Linked DNA regions of Homo sapiens: region 2 is linked to region 1. The links are contacts of gene promoters, found by promoter capture Hi-C in blood cells and fetal thymus (Javierre and others, 2016). All regions are on one chromosome and are shown on one strand. The core of a region is centred on a gene start or on the middle of the fragment in contact, and the rest is flanking DNA. Distances in the headings are between cores, read along the strand shown. Region 1 holds the start of LYN (LYN proto-oncogene, Src family tyrosine kinase). Region 2 overlaps PCMTD1-DT (PCMTD1 divergent transcript).

Region 1 (7,901 bases), core at 3,759-6,258:
GGTGAAACCCTGTCTCTACTAAAAATACAAAAAAATTGCCTGGGCGTGGTGGCACACGCCTGTAATCCCAGGTACTTGGGAGGCTGAGGCAGGAGAATCCCTTGAACCCGGGAGGTGGAGGTTGCAGTGAGCCAAGAGGGTGCCATTGCACTCCAGCCCGGGTGACACAGTGAGACTCCATCTCAAAAAATAAATAAACACACACACACACAAAACTATTTTGCTGTGATGCCTATGCCAGTGGCCAAGGCAGCAGCACATCAGCGAGCACAGTTCCAGGAGATCTGCTGGTGCCAGGTGGCAGTGATGCATGACATTCCTGCCCACTCTCAGCTGTCTTACGGTGTATGAACATTCAGCTTTTCTGAATTTAGTTTAGGGTGATGATGAAACAACGGCTAGCTTGGTGGCTCTGAGAGGTCTCTATTCACATCAATAGCTGTGTCTTCTGCTTGACAGCTGGTCCCAGGTGCAGCTTTCAGCAAATCCATCACCTGGGTATATGATCTGGGACAAAAATACACTTAGCTCCTTCATGGAGATTGACAGTGACATCACTGTGCTACAAGGAGCTTTGTGAGACTGGGTTCAGCTCAAAAAGTTGCCAAACCTACTTGACCATAAATACTTTCTCCATGTCAGACCTGTTTTTTTTTTTTTTTTTTTTTGAGACGGAGGCTCACTCTATCACCCAGGCTGGAGTGCAGTGGTGCGATCTCTGCTCACTGCAAGCTCTGCCTCCCGGGTTCACGCCATTCTCCTGCCTCAGCCTCCCGAGTAGTTGGGACTACAGGTGCCCATCACCATGCCCGGCTAATTTTTTTTTATATTTTTAGTAGAGATGGGGTTTCACTGTGTTAGCCAGGATGGTCTCGATCTCCTGACCTCGTGATCTGCCCGCCTCGGCCTCCCAAAGTGCTGGGATTACAGGCGTGAGCCACTGTGCCTGGCCTGTAATACCGGTTAACATTGGATAAGTATTTAAGAAAAAATCTACCTTGTGGCAATTTATGTATAAATAATATTTCATATAGTTGTTAAAATTTTTTTGTAGCCTAAAATAATTCTTAGCAATTTTTGTTTTTCTTTATTAATTCCTTGTATCTATAATCACTTGTGCTAAAGTCACCCATTTTCCCCAGTAATACAGGTTTAATATTCTCAATCCTTACCACTTTACCCTCACACAGAGGCATATATCCATGCTACTTTTTTTTTTTTTTTTTTTTTTTGAGACCGAGTCTCACTCTGTTGTCCAGGCTGGAGTGCAGTGGCGTGATCTTGGCTCACTGCAACCTCCACCTCCTGGGTTCAAGCAATTCTCTTGCCTCAGCCTCCCGAGTAACTAGGACTACAGGTGTGAGCCACCACACCCAGCTAATTTTTGTATTTTTAGTAGAGACAGGGTTTCACCATGTTGGCCAGGCTGGTCTCAAACTCCTGATCTCAGGTGATCCACCCACGTCAGCCTCCCAAAGTGCTGGGATTATAGGTTTGAGCCACTGCCCCTGGCCACATGCTACTCTCTTAAAGACAGAGGACCTGGGGGCATGAGGGCTTGAGGAAGGTGGACGTTGTTCAGAGAGGTGAGCTCCAGGCTAGGGGAGGGCGGAGCACACTCCACCAGTGGTTCCCAAACTTGGCTGCTCATTGGAACCACCTGGCAAGGTTTTCAGTCTCTGATAATTGGGGTTCCCCTCACCATCCCCATCCCCCAAAGACTTTGATTTAACTGGTCTAGGTAGGGCCTGGGCATGGAGATATTTTAGCAGCTCAGGTGATTCTAATGTGCCCCCAGGGTTGAGCACCACTACTCTGTATTATTTGCTACTTGGTAGTTAGGTCTGTGGCCAAGTTGGCAAGAGTTAGGTGGAAGAATACTAGAAGAGGCAGCAGGGGCAGCCCACACAGTGGCAGTGGGATGGGTTGCAGCACAGATGATTTGGTGGACCAACATGAACAGGTGAGCAGCATGACCAATCCTGGCCTCAAGCACCATGACCACGCATGAGATGATGATGGCGGTGCTAATGAAGAAGTTCCTAGAGGTCAGATATTTCATTTTCCCACAGTGGATGATGGGATGCTCTTGTATGCTGCGTCCCATTATTTGTGGTAGTTATGTTCTATAGTCACTGTGAACACTGAATTAGCGAATACCGAGTCACTGCTTCTTAGGTTCCTGTGAGTCTCTGGACACAACATTTTCATTACATTATGATTAATACATAACCTTATATGGTGTGTGTTTCTGTTTAATGGACACCTTATTTAATATATGGCTGATTCATTACATTGAGTTCACAACCAATAGCACAGTAGCTCCTGCCTGCAGGACGGTTCTCCAGTGGGCACGCCACAGCCTCTGGTGCTTAGCAACAACAGACAGCACTTTAGCAAGCTCTACGCTTCGGGCCATTTATTTTTATTTTTATTTTTTTTAATTTTTTTATTGTGGGGGGGGTCTCACGATATTGCCTAGGATGGTCTTGAACTCCTGAGCTCGAGCAATCCTCCCACCTCGGCCTCCCAAAGTGCTGGGATTACAGGCATGAGCCACTGAGCTCAGTCGCTTGGGGGCCATTTTAAACAGCAAAATCACCAACAAAAAGCACAGAAGTGTGGAAAGCATAAACTAAATGGACAGCAAAAAGAATACAAGAAGGCAGAGCATCGCCTTGTTCCACTATAGCTGGGAGGGTGTGCGTGGGGCAACTCAAGATTTTTACTGCTCTGGGATGTGCATATCTATGAGTGACTGGGAAAACACCTCAAGTATTGATTTTGAGATTACAAATACATTTTAGCAAGTAGATAAGTTCACAAATATGATATCTGCAAAAATGAGGATACACTGTACATAACGTATTTACAATACCGCCTTCTCTTGCCCCGCCCATCGTATTCCTTCCTTTCTTCAAAGGCCCATCTATCCTGTCAAGGAGCCTTAATTGATTTGCACCCTGCCTCTGATCACTGCCTTCTGTGCTCAATTTAGAGAAAACTGGTGAGATAAATCAGTCATCAATCAATTAACCAATCAATCAATACTAATGAACTATTTTAAAGCACCCAACATAATTTCTGGGAGGTAGAGTGGGGAATAGATAAATATAAAAGGCAGTGCCTTCCCAAAAGGAGTTTACCAGTAGTTGAGGAGACAAGCCTAACATGGGCAAACAATGCTAAAAAGTACCTAGGTCTAGTTTAAAATAATGTTGCACACCATACATGCTACAGATGCTTTAAAAAGTTGCCTATCAATAGGAGCTTTAAATAAAACTTTCCTGAGAAATAGAACTTTCATGGGACATTAAGAAGGAAAGACAGATATGGAGAATGATTGAATGAAGTATTCAGCAAGTATAAATGCAGCCTAAGAAGTGGAAATTAGCATCGTATCGTTTTTTTCCAAATAAGAATGAAGAGATGAACTTAGTGAGGACAATTTTGTGAGGAGTTAGGGAGTTGGGGATCTGGTTGCAAGCTCAGGTAAGCCTGATGATGCTTTGTTCCTTACCCTGAGAGACATTTTACCAAAAACACTGACAGACATTCCTGATAGATTAACCAATACCAAACGTTTTTGAATCCTATTCTTATTTGCCACACACGTTTAGTCAGGATCTCAAGGATTCATCAGTAGCAGCAGAAACTTTAATGTAGGGTTAATATATTTGAGAGGTCATTCTTAAGAAAAGTCTAGGCAATAGGCCCTCAGGTAGTGAATTATTCTGTAGGATTCATTGTTTTTTGTTTCATTTTGTTTTGTTTTGTTCTTTTTTCATTTTTCTATTTTTCTCCATAGGATTCTTGATAGGTTTCAATCACACACCTTCCCATGGGTATTTCCATGGGCAACCCACCCCTTCTCTTCAGCAGTAAACTAACAACTACATACCAGTGAACATCACAGGTATAAACCACCTTTCTTCTTTTAAGGAATTAGTATGCAAACTTTAGTACTCTTTTCCTAGTAACAAATAACTGCTGTATCAGATTGTGTCACAAGGCAGCTGCTTTGACTTATTGCTCTGTAGCTGGGGTCAGCCTCTTCAGAACATTGTTAATGAGAGAAAGGAAGTGCTTTGGGCAGTGTCTGGCCCATCAGGCCCTCTGTAAATGTTTGCTATTAATGCAATGCTGAGATCCCAGTGAACAGAATCTGGCTTAGAAGAAGTGGGTATCCACGGTGCCCGAGCCTAATCTTACATCTTGGATTTGTAAGTGGCATTTATTGAGTTGAACATGAGCTTGAGCACGCGGTCACACATTCTTTCAGCAAACACTGGTTAGGCACCAGCTGCTACGTGCAAGCACTGCCCTACATGCTGGGACGCAGCTGTAGTAGGAATGAAATAACGCCAGCATTCCTGCATGCGGGCAGTGCGGGCCCTGTACAGAAAGGTACACGAGATAGGCATCCTCACATCCATTGTCCTGGGAGGAAACTGAGGCTTTGAGAAACGGAGAACTTGCCGGGCCATTTGACTCTACGTCATCCCCTCCCCCATCAATGCCCTGAACAGCCTCCTGTACACCCTTAAGGAACTTACTTTGTAATGATTATTAAGAACTCAGCGAGACCCCGAGCATCACCTCGGCATATCGCATCCTTTCTCTAGAGAACCCCTAATGTTGGAAGGGATCAGAGCGCACCTCCTCCGCTCCTGGGAGCACCCCCTTCCTAATAATACCTTGGGGATGGGTCGGAAGGAAAGGAAAGGAGACGCGAGAGGTGTAGTCGATGTGCCTGCGAAGCCCAGGCTCCTCTGGAGATCCTTCCGTCCGTCCCTACAGGAGAAGGCTGGCCCGGGCTGCTCCACTCCCCGGAGCTGCAGACTGAGTCGCCAGGTTTCTGTGCCTTCAAAGCCCTGCGCGACGGCCACACCAAACACCCAAACCTTGGGCAGGGACCAAACGGTCACTTCCCCGCCCTCCGGGCTCAATATGCAAATCCGAGCACCAGGAAGTAGCTGGGACCTCTCGGCCGAGCCCAGAGACAGCCAGTTCCTCTCCCGCCGCGCCGGGCCGCGCTGCCGCTCGCTCCCCGGCCGTGGCGCCTCCGGGCCAGACGCGCTGCAGCCTCCAGCCCGCGGCAAGCGGGGCGGCCGCGCCACCCCCGGCCCCGCGCCAGCAGCCCCTCGCCGCGCGTCCAGCGTTCCCGGCCAGCAGCCTCCCCATACGCAGGTCCTGCTGGGCCGCCCCGTCGCGCCCCCCACTCTGAACTCAAGTCACCGTGGAGCTCCGCCGCCCCGAAACTTTCACCGCGAGCGGGTGAGTCCTCTGCGCGAGCCCAGGGGTGGGCGCGGGCACGCGGGCAGTGGGTGCAGGGGCCGCGGCTGTGCCACCAGCCGGAGTCCCGGGCGCAGGGTAGACTCGGGGCCGGGGGCATCGGCGCGGCCCGCGGCGGCTTCCTGGCCGCACCGCCTCTGGGCTCCGGCGGCGAAGGCTCTTAGATGTCTTCAGCCGACGGGTGACCGGGCCCGGGGGAGCCAGGGCGCGGGGACTGAGGCTCCGCAGGTGTCCGCCGCGGAGCCGCGCAGGGGAGCGGTGGGAGGTGCGGGCGCGGGGGCGGGCTCACCGCGTGTCCTTCCCGGTGAGGGCCCGAGGGCCGGCTGCTGTCCCTGCTCCGGCCGCTTCTCGCACACAGTGGGGAAGCCGCTGCCCTTGCGGAGCGGGCGCGCGGCGGGGATACTGGAGAGGACTCCTCGGATTGTGCAATCTGATCTCCCCTCTGGACCCTGGGTCTCCTGGCAGTGGGAGATGGGGCTCGGCCGGCGCCCTCTCGAGGCCCGCGGACAGTTGCCCTCCCTGGTGGCCCCGGGCAGGAGCGTGACGTCGAGGGGCTGCAGCGGAGGCTGGAACTCACCCTCCCGCTGCGGCGCCTCTCGGCCTGCCGAGGAGCAGTCCGGTGCTTTTGCCGGCTGAGAGGAAGCGAGAGTTATTTTAAGAATTCAGGGGTTGCCTTTCCTTCGCCTTGGGGGAAGGGCGTAAGAGTCAGTTCCCACTTTCCTGCATTCTCTGGGCCCATGGTGGCATCTTTTGCTTGCGGTGCATTCGTAACTTTCCAACAGCCTGCCTGTCATGTGGATTAGCGGTTGTGTTTTTGTATATCCGAGTGTGTTAATTATCCCAAATTCGCCCTTCTTCGCCAGCTCAGAATCTAGGCCTTGCACTTTTCTGGCTGTATATTTAGGGGACCGATTATTGAAATTCCCTGTTTGAGTTTCTTCATCTTTGAGAGAGCATATATACCTCAGGGGCTGTTTAGTACACACAAAGCCCCTAGTACGTACCAAGCATTTCATAAACGATGTTACTGTTATTTATTGCAGTGAATTCTATTCATATAAATGAGGCTTCTTGGTTCTTTGCAGCTTGGTGATGTTGAAGCTAAGACTACCATGTCAGATTTAGCCATCTGACCTTATTAGTAAATCTGCTTAATAAATACATGAGGGATTTGCTGTCCCAAAGCAGGGCCCAGTAGTCTGACTTTCCCTAAAGAACTAGCCAATAAACTGGTGGGCTACAGGGATGTTTTCTCTGTACAGCCAACACCTAAAGCCATGCCCTGGGGAATAGGCACTGCAAGAACCCAGGCCTTACTAAGCCCTTCTCTGTAAGAGTAAGCTTTGTTGGGAAAGGGTGGGATCCAGTTAGTCCCTCCATTCTCATTTGGAGGTAAGCAGGTAAGCGCTTTGAGGCCTGAATAAATTTCACTGGATCATAGAGTCTTTGGTGACTGGGCCTCTTTGGATGTAAATGTGTGGCCCTTTTGCTGAGTGAAGGATAGAGGGCAGCAGATGTAAGGGGAGAGAAAGTAGGAGCCAGGAACCTTGAGTTTTGGCCTCTTCCATCATTTAATATGCTGTGATTTGGGATAAGCCACTTGGGCCATTTATTCAGCCAAGATTTCCTTTATAGCAGCAGCCAGAGTTATATTGATTTGTCTGCAGGTTGATAGTCTGTATTAACCATTACAGTGGAAGCTCCATGAAAACTGCTTCATCTGTCTTGTCCAAAATGATAGCCCCAGTGCCTGGTACATAGTAGGTGCTCAGTTCGAGATTACTTGGAAGAAGGAATGAAGGCCTCCTGTGAGCTTGCCCTATGCAAAACTGAGGACATAGGGAGATGAAGAAATAGAGCTGGTCCCTAAGGTGTTTGAAGCCTACTGGCCCTTTCTGTTGTGGTTTCTAAAACGGGGATTTGAGAGGCTTTGTTGACTGTAAAGTTACCCAGCACTGAGTTACCCACATTTAGTGTGGGTAACTAAATGAGAGTCTCCACTCAGCACCGCTCTTCTCTACTTATTACTGGAAGAGAGGTCCTGATGTGGGGTGGTTAAGATGTTTCCTGCAAAGGTAGTTGGCCCAATCCAGAAGACCTACATTATTTTAGAGTCATTGGTGTTACAAAGGTAGGTCGAAACTTTGTAATCCCGCCCCTGCCCTCCAATAGCTTTCTTTTAGCAGAAAAGTGGTCCAGCACTGTTCAATGACTTTGAAAGCCTTTTACTTCTATCTGCAATATTTGTTTTTAGATAAATCACCAAAAACATCTGAGATTCCAGTTGGTTCACATGACTATGTGGAGTTGTAACTTAACAAAATTAAATCATATTATTCATGTACAAACCCATACTAACTTTATAAATAAGGACACCATGTATACATGCCCACAGCAGGGAACATTGTTATAAGCTCACTCCTACTGATGATCTCAGTGATGCATGGATGAGTGTTAACATTGAAAGGCCACCACAATCATTAGTCAGGACATTGATCAATGTCACATTGATAGCAGAGATAGCCTCAGACCTTTACTGGCTCTTCCTAGTGATGATGGTGAAGGTGTTAGCACCTTTCATTTGTTCAGGGCTCTGAAGTCTTCCT
Region 2 (7,901 bases), core at 3,807-6,306, 3.9 Mb before region 1:
TAGTTCATCATAGGAAGTGTGGCACCACCAAAGGTTAACCTGACACCTGTCTGAAGATTTGTTTTCAAGTCCCTGCTCAGCATGGTTCCCTTTGTGACCTCCAGAAAGTCACTCAGATTCTTTGGACCTTATTTTTTTCATCTCTAACCTCTCATTTCATTCTATTTAGACAGATTATAGGACTAGGACTCATGTTTTTCTTCTTAGCATTGAAAAGGCTATTCCAAGAAACCCACTTTACCATGAGAATCTAATCTGCAGAGGATACAAGGACTTGAAGTAGTTCAGATTATACTTTTAGAACATATTCAATCCAGAGTCATTACTCAGTTTACCTTCTGTATTTCTTTCTTTCCCCATACTCATTTTTTTAATTTAAAATATTATGTGGTGCCATAAATATATTTTGTAACTAACTTTTTTACATTCTTTCATGTAAGGTCACTTAGTGTTCTAACTTTATTAGCAAATTAATTTTACTCAGTATTATTGTACAAGTTATTAAAATTTTATTGCTAATAATTTTCAGTTTTAATTAATAAGCATTTAATATTCAACATTATGATGCCCATATTTGAAGTGTAATTTCCCCTTGCTTAGATTACTTTTCAATGTCCGCCAATACTGTCTTACAACACTAAACATTTCATATTATGGTAAATAAATGATGGTAAATTTAGGATAAGACATGTTTGGATTCAAGTTTGTAGACGTCGGTGCACTTTGAATGTATTGACTCATCTTACAGCTGGTCACTGTTAGTGGATTACTACGGTTTGTTATTCCTGTTTTGCTGATGGGTAGCTCATTCAGAACACAGGGTTTGCACACCATTAGTAAACAATAGAACTCCAGCTTCCTGTGTTGCTAGTTTTCTCTCTTTAAGATTCTTGACAACTATGCAATCAGCTTCTCTTGCTACATAGAGTTAAATGGGTGTTGGAAAGCTGTCACTATTTATTCTTAAAGGATTTCTTTAGATTGTGAGAAGGGCTTCTGCCCAGGAAGCTAGTCTGGTCAAAGTGTTGCATACATGAGAGGTCCGAGCACATTCACAGGTCCCTGTAGCTGTTAGCACCTGTCTGTGAGCAACCCTTGATCTTCAATCTTTTCTTCTGGTAGATGCTTTAATGGTGAGAAAAACCATATTCTGCGTGACTCCTGATGCCATATGGCTACTCTGGCCACTGAGAGCTGCCAAAACAACTAAAATAACAGCCTAACCTTTCATTTTCATTTTCTCCTTGAGCGGGAATGTGAAACATTGCAGCTTTTATCTGGGTTGTGTGTTCAAGTTTATTTGCTTGCTTGTTTATTTATTTAACGTGCAATTATTATGGTATACATCAGTCAAATGTAAAACTTTCAGATATTTCCATGGGATTACAATACTTTTGTATATTATATGAGTAGTTTAAAATTTTATTCCTCTGTTTTCCACTTTTCCATTTCAATCACCAGATTTAAAATGTCACATCTCTTTGAAAGAACTTAAAGGCAAGATATTTCCTAGTATCAGCAGGACTGAAACAGCCTTTGCAAAATTATGACAGTGAGAAAAAATTGACATCAGAACATTATCACAGTAAAGAATCTGCTTGCCTCTAACCTCCAGCCTACCCATATTCATTCCTGGGCACAGGCCAAACTAACTTTGGAAGGAATTTAGTTTATAGTTTAACTTTTTATTTTTTTTTTTCTGAGAGAGTCTCACTCTATCGCCCAGGCAGGAGTGCAGTGGTGTGATATTGCCTCTCTGCAGCCTCCGGCTCCCGGGTTGAAGCGATTCTCCCACCTCAGCCTCCAAAGTAGCTGGGATTACAGGTGTGTACCACCACGCTCGGCTAATTTTTGTATTTTTTGTAGAGATGGGGTTTCACTATGTTGGCCAGGCTGGTCTCAAACTCCTGACCTCAAATGATTCATCCTCCTCTGCCTCTCTAAATGCTGAGCCACCACACTCACCTTATAGTTTTACTTTGAAACAAAGATACTAATAGCCCTTTCCAGGACAAACAAAACAACAACAACAACAACAAAACAAACCCTCCTTGAGCCAAAGACCCCAAGATTCCCAACCTCCCCAATTGCTCCTATGGATAACATCACTACTGTAAAATCTCAGATTGGTGTTTGAGGTATTTTTTCCAACCCTGCATTCTGATAGCTCAACTGGCACCACCCAGACTAGTAAAGTGGCTCAACTGGTTGTGTGGCCCCCACCCACAAACTGACTCAGTGTAAGAAGATGGTTTCGAATCCCTGTGATTTCGTTCCCAACCCGATCAATCAGCATTCCTCGTTTCTCAGTCTCCTGCCTGCCAAATTATCCTTTAAAAACCCTAGTTCTTTATAACTTAAAAAACAGACTGATTTGAGTAAAGTCCAGTCTTTCACCTATCCAACTCTCTGTGCATTAAACTCTCTATTGCAATTCTCATCTTGATAAACTGACTGCATCTGGGCAGCAGGCAAGAGGAACCCATTGGGTGCTTACAGGACCTTTGTGATTTTGTGCTGCTTGTCTCAAGTTGTAGGTTCAGGATATGATGGTGGAGACAAATGACCAAGTTCTGCTTTTGGTTAGGCCCAGAGGGCATCACCTGTGCATTTCCATGCAGACTCCACATTGTGAGATGCAATGCCACAGTCCCACCTGTCTGACCACTTCCTATAGTAAGAGATATCCTGCAGATGACTCCAGCCAAAGACGTTGATGGCAAAACCAAATCAAAACAGATAACAGAAACAGGAGGAGGAGCCAATATTAGAAAAAAACAAGTCACTGATGTCAGTAAAACCACCGTGATAAATACTGTGGAGAAAGAGTGGTCATGAGTTGGACTCACTCAGATCAATAAAGCATTTTATACCTGGTGCTGTTCCTAGTTGCTTGCGTGCAGCAGCATGCCAGAAGTAGAATGAAATCTGTGGAAATCTTATAACTACTAGCTTCTGAGTATATGTCCTTTCTAATTTGTAGAGGAAGATTGATCCTAAGATAATTACCTGAAATTAAAGAGGATATCGACATCTATATTTCCACCCTTGACGTCTTCCCTAAGCTCCAGATTCATATATCCAGCTGTCTCTTGGAAAAAAACCAAACTCATTATGTTTCCCCAAACTCATTCGTCTTTATATATATATTTGTATATATTTAATGTGTATATATGTGTGTATAAATACACTCACATATGTGTGTGTGTGTATATATATATATATATTTTTTTTTTTTCTTTTAGAGACAGAGTCTCACTCTGTCATCCAGGCTAGAGTGCAATGCTGCTATCGTATCTTATTGCAGGCTTGAACTCCTGGGTTCAAGGGATCCTCCCACCTCAGCCTCTCAAGTAGGTAGGAATACAGGAGTACAGGAGTGCACCACCATGCCTGGCTATATATATTTTTTCAATCTCACCTCATTTATAGTTACGAACTCATTGTACATGTAGTGCTAGTACAAATTAGAAATTAAATCAATATTTTTTAAACTAAACTGACCCTGATGATGTAAGTTCACGTCAGTTAGGATCCTTTCTTCTACTTTTAACATATTCTAAGCTCAAGAAATCAGAAGACATATTTTTCCTTAGGAATGTTCTTAAGGGACACTTTTTCCCTTTCTATAACCCTCAGACAAACTCCAACATTGTCTATTGGGAATAAATAACACTCAGTGAAGAAAACTGGAAGAAGAGGAGAGAGGAAAGGCAAGGCCATCCATATAATGAAGAGAATGTTGTCTAGAAATGAAAATGACTAAGAGAAGGAATCATGTAAGTCAACCAGCAACAAAAGCCATTCTACGATTGCAGAACTCAGGTTAGGGCCTACAAATGGTGATAAGTTGACCTCTAAGTTCCCCAAGGCAGAGGGAAGTGGTGGGTTGAAGCGTTGCAGGGTAGGATACTCGGAGGATCTCCTCAGAGTGTGGCATCCTGAGCCATTGCTGCGAGTCGCTCAGATGCGCTGTGCATGCCTGACAGGGCATGATGCTTGGCCATATATGGGCCACAGGAAAAAACTTCTCCTTCACCCTCTGAAGATTCACTAAAAAATGAACTCGCAAAAGGCAGATATGTTGGAGAAAAGGCATATAGATCTATTAACATGCACACAAGGAGAACCACAGAGTACTCACCCACCTCCTAATGGGGTTCAGAAGCTTGTCTGCCATCCTGGCAAAACAGGGTGTGGGAGGGAGAGAAGAGGAATTCTGTTAAGGGGATTACTAGGAAGAATAAATAGATCAGAGAATAGAGATTAATTTATATGTTGTCTTGTGAGTGGGTCTGTTCAGGCATGGTTACATTCTTGGTCTTATAGGGAGGGGAATTTAAAACAACTGTTCTCCTTAATGGGTTTGGCTATTAGGCAGATAAAGAAATGTTAACTTCCTTCTGTGCTTTGGGAGAAATGGTAGGAGGTGGGCCGGGGAGAAAGACCTTGAGGCTTCTTCAGTTCAGCATGTCAATGTGCCATATTGTTGGGGTATTAACTTCTGAGCCCCAACAACCAGCGCCTCACCTCGTAGGACGCCTTGCCTGGGCACTTCCTTCTCTGCTTTCATGGCCCCTACTGCTCCTGAAATTGTATTGTCCCTGGTCCCCTCTCCACTCACTGCGAATCTTTGAGGTCCTAGGTAAAACAAGGCAGCACACAGGACTGCTTAGATCTGCCCACCAGGTCTCATGACCTCCCAGCCACACGGGCTGATTGTTTCTGCTCCTTGAAAACTCCGGGCATGTTTCTGCCGGCAGACCTCTGCACCTGGGGCTTCCTCCTGTCATTCAGGATCTGCGCAAATCTCACCTCACAGAGTGCTTCCCCAGTCACCCAATGCGGAGTAACATCCATGTCATATCCCTCTTTAAGACACTCTTCATAGCACTTATTGTTGATGTTGAGAAAAGAAAAATAGCTTAGCGCAGTCTGCACTATGTGAAGTATGCAGGTGCAGAGAGACAGGAGCAGGGCCTGCAGTCATTCCACCCTGCTCCCACCGTGGTTTAAAGCCATTTAGTTCCTGACTAGCCGCCTCACCCAGTATCTTCATGTTGCAGGAGTTTGTGATACAAAGAACAGTATGTAGTCCATCAATAGCTTATGTTATTTTAATGTAATTTTTTGCTAAACAACTGAGGAACTGCCTCTTTCTTTTACTTTAAAAACCTATTTGTAACTGTTGCTAACTGGATGTATGTTGAGGGCAACTCCAACCTATGGAATTGCAACTGAAACCACCTTTGCAAAGATTACGATTACTACAGTGACAGAAATCTAACAGGGCTGACTCCATCTTGCTTCTGACCACCTAGCTGTCCCGGTTAATTCCTAGGTAGAGGCCAAGCTAACTTTGGGAGGGATTTTGTTTCTAGTTCAACCTTAAAACAAAGATGATAATAGCTCTTCACAAAACTAAACTGCATTTGTAAAACTAATGAAAGTCCACAAGAATAAGATTATGAGAGGGGCCTGAACTCTGCTAAGATGTAGGTGTCGTTTCTATAATCTCTTACTGCTCCAGAGTCATGTGGCAGAAGGCACAGGATTCATGACTTCCCCAATTGCTCTTATAAATAACATCATGATTGTGGAAGCTAAGATTGATTTTTTGAAATGTTTTTCAAACTGACTGTATCCGGACGATGACTCATGACCCATCAGGTCCTGGGGCCCACCCAGAGGACCATTTTCCACATCTCTATGATTTCCTCCCCAACCAATCAGCACCACCCATTCCCTAGGTCCCTGCCCACCAAATTGTCCATAAAAACCCTAGCCTCTGAGTCCTTGGAGTGTCTGATTTGAGTAATAGCTCTGTCTCCCATGTGGCAGTCTCATGTCAATTACTCTTTCTTTCCTGCAATAGCATGGTCTCAGTGAATTGGTTTTGTCTATGCAGCAAGCAGGAAGAATTCATCTGGTAATTACACAACCCTCAAGCTTGGCCCAGATAAACTCTCTTATATTAGTTTTGCCTCAGGTTCTTCCTTTTAGCTCAATAATATTATTATTTTTTTATTTGCTTACTTGTCAGTTGACTGTTGTCCCCACACAAGAAAATAAACTGCACAAAAGGAGGCAGCTGAACTCTCATTTATTGGTGTAGATTCAGGATCTAGAGTGGTGCATGCAATTCTTGGAGCTCAACCAATGGTTGTTAAGTTAGTGGATAAATAAAATGCTGACTTGATGTAGCATCAGCATCATGGGGTAAAACATTGTATCTCAATCTTACTTCAAAGGAGATTTTGGTCAAGGCTCCGCTATAAACAAAAATCTTCCTTCTCTTAACATGTAAAGTCTATTTACTAACTTGTAAAGACCCCTTTCTAACTTGGAGAGGGTGAAGGCCTGACAAGATAAGACAGAAGGCAGGTTATCTGAGGGAACTCTTGAGTAGAAAAGGAAATTGACAGCCCAAAGCCTATGACAGTGTCTAATCCTGGAGATTAAAGTGGGGGAAATGCCACTGAAAGCAGGTCTGGGTTTCAGAGCTCCCTCCCTCAATTGTGATGCATACTATAAGATCACAGTTCTGAGGTTCTGATTAGCATGTCTTTTTTTTTTTTTTGAGAGAGAATCTCGCTTTGTCGCCCAGGCTGGAGTGCAGTGGTGCAATCTTGGCTCACTGCAACCTCCGCCTCTCAGGTTCAAGTGATTCTCCTGCCTCAGCCTCCCAAGTAGCTGGGACTACAGACGTGCACCACCACGCCCAGCTAATTTTTGTATCTTTAGTAGAGACAGGTTTTGCCATGTTGGTCAGGCTGGTCCCGAACTCCTGACCTCAAGTGATCCACCCACCTCAGGCTCCCAAAGTGCTAGGATTACAGGTATGAGCCACTGCACCTGGCCAAGCATGTCCCTTTAAATCTCACCTGGTATCACAGGGAGAGAGGGAATGAGAAGGGGTTTTAAAAGGACATGCTTTTAAATAGACATGCTTTTGAAACCCTCCTCATTCCCTTTCTTCCTATAATACCAAGTGAGAAAAGATAAGAACTTGTGGCCGGGTGCAGTGGCTCACGCCTGTAATCCCAGCACTTTGGGAGGCTGAGGTGGGTAGATCATGAGGTCAGGAGATGGAGACCATCCTGGCTAACACGGTGAAACCCCGTCTCCACTGAAAAATACACAAAATTAGCCGGGCATGGTGGCGGGCACATGTAGTCCCAGCTACTCGGGAGGCTGAGGCAGGAGAATCGCTTGAACCTGGGAGGCGGAGTTTGCAGTGAGCCGAGATTGTGCCACTGCACTCCAGCATGGGCAACAGAGTGAGACTCCATCTCAAAAAAAAAAAAAAAAAAAAAAGATAAGAATTTTTGTCTGAAGACTATGAGTCCTTTTAAACAATCAGGCCCAGAGTGTAAATCTGAGGACTATGTGTCCTTTTAAACCATCAGGCCCAGAGATTTAAAACTTCTTCTCATTCCCCCTCTCCCTATGATACTAGGTGAGAAAAGATAAGATAAGAACTTTTATCTGAGGACTATGAGTCCTTTTAAACAATCAGGCCCAGAGAGACATAATGAGACAGGAATCATGTCCTACTTCCCCACTGAGCTACATATTCATGTCTTCAAATTGCTTGCGGGTGGACACAGTGGCTCGTGCCTGTAATCCCAACACTTTGGGAGGCCAGGACAGGAGGATCACTTGAGACCAGGAGTTCAAGACCAGCCTGGGCAACAAAGTGAGAACCCTGTCTCTACGAAAAATAAAAATAAATAAATAAATAAATAAATAAAAACCTGCTCGCTCTTGCCACAAGTAGCTATCAATTAACCTAATAATGCCTCACTGGACACTATAACCCATACCCAGTAGCTTAACAAGGTATAGCCAATCACTATTTAATGTCATTTCTGTAAACCAATGTGAATTCCTGACAAATA

The links. Contacts are between HindIII fragments. The CHiCAGO score rates a contact against its expected background, and 5 or more counts as called.
Region 2: a fragment that was not itself captured here is called in contact with the fragment with the promoter of LYN in region 1 in 1 of 17 cell types (M0 macrophages); the score reaches 7.8 in M0 macrophages.

The regions. Positions count from the first base shown.
Region 1 is chr8:55,874,827-55,882,727 of GRCh38, forward strand. It overlaps LYN (LYN proto-oncogene, Src family tyrosine kinase), which reads left to right and starts at 5,009. Exons shown (of 13, transcript NM_002350.4): 1 at 5,009-5,277. RefSeq lists enhancers at 206-315, 4,103-4,192, 4,753-4,812, 6,992-7,101 and silencers at 4,963-5,022, 5,043-5,212, 5,293-5,582, 5,613-5,792. The HindIII fragment of the contact is 13,046 bases long and covers 1-6,634 here.
Region 2 is chr8:51,938,359-51,946,259 of GRCh38, forward strand. PCMTD1-DT (PCMTD1 divergent transcript) reads left to right here. Exons shown (of 4, transcript NR_189279.1): 3 at 3,640-3,779. Among named protein-coding and RNA genes, the nearest start is that of PCMTD1-DT, 43 kb to the left of the region's middle. The HindIII fragment of the contact is 1,781 bases long and covers 4,167-5,947 here.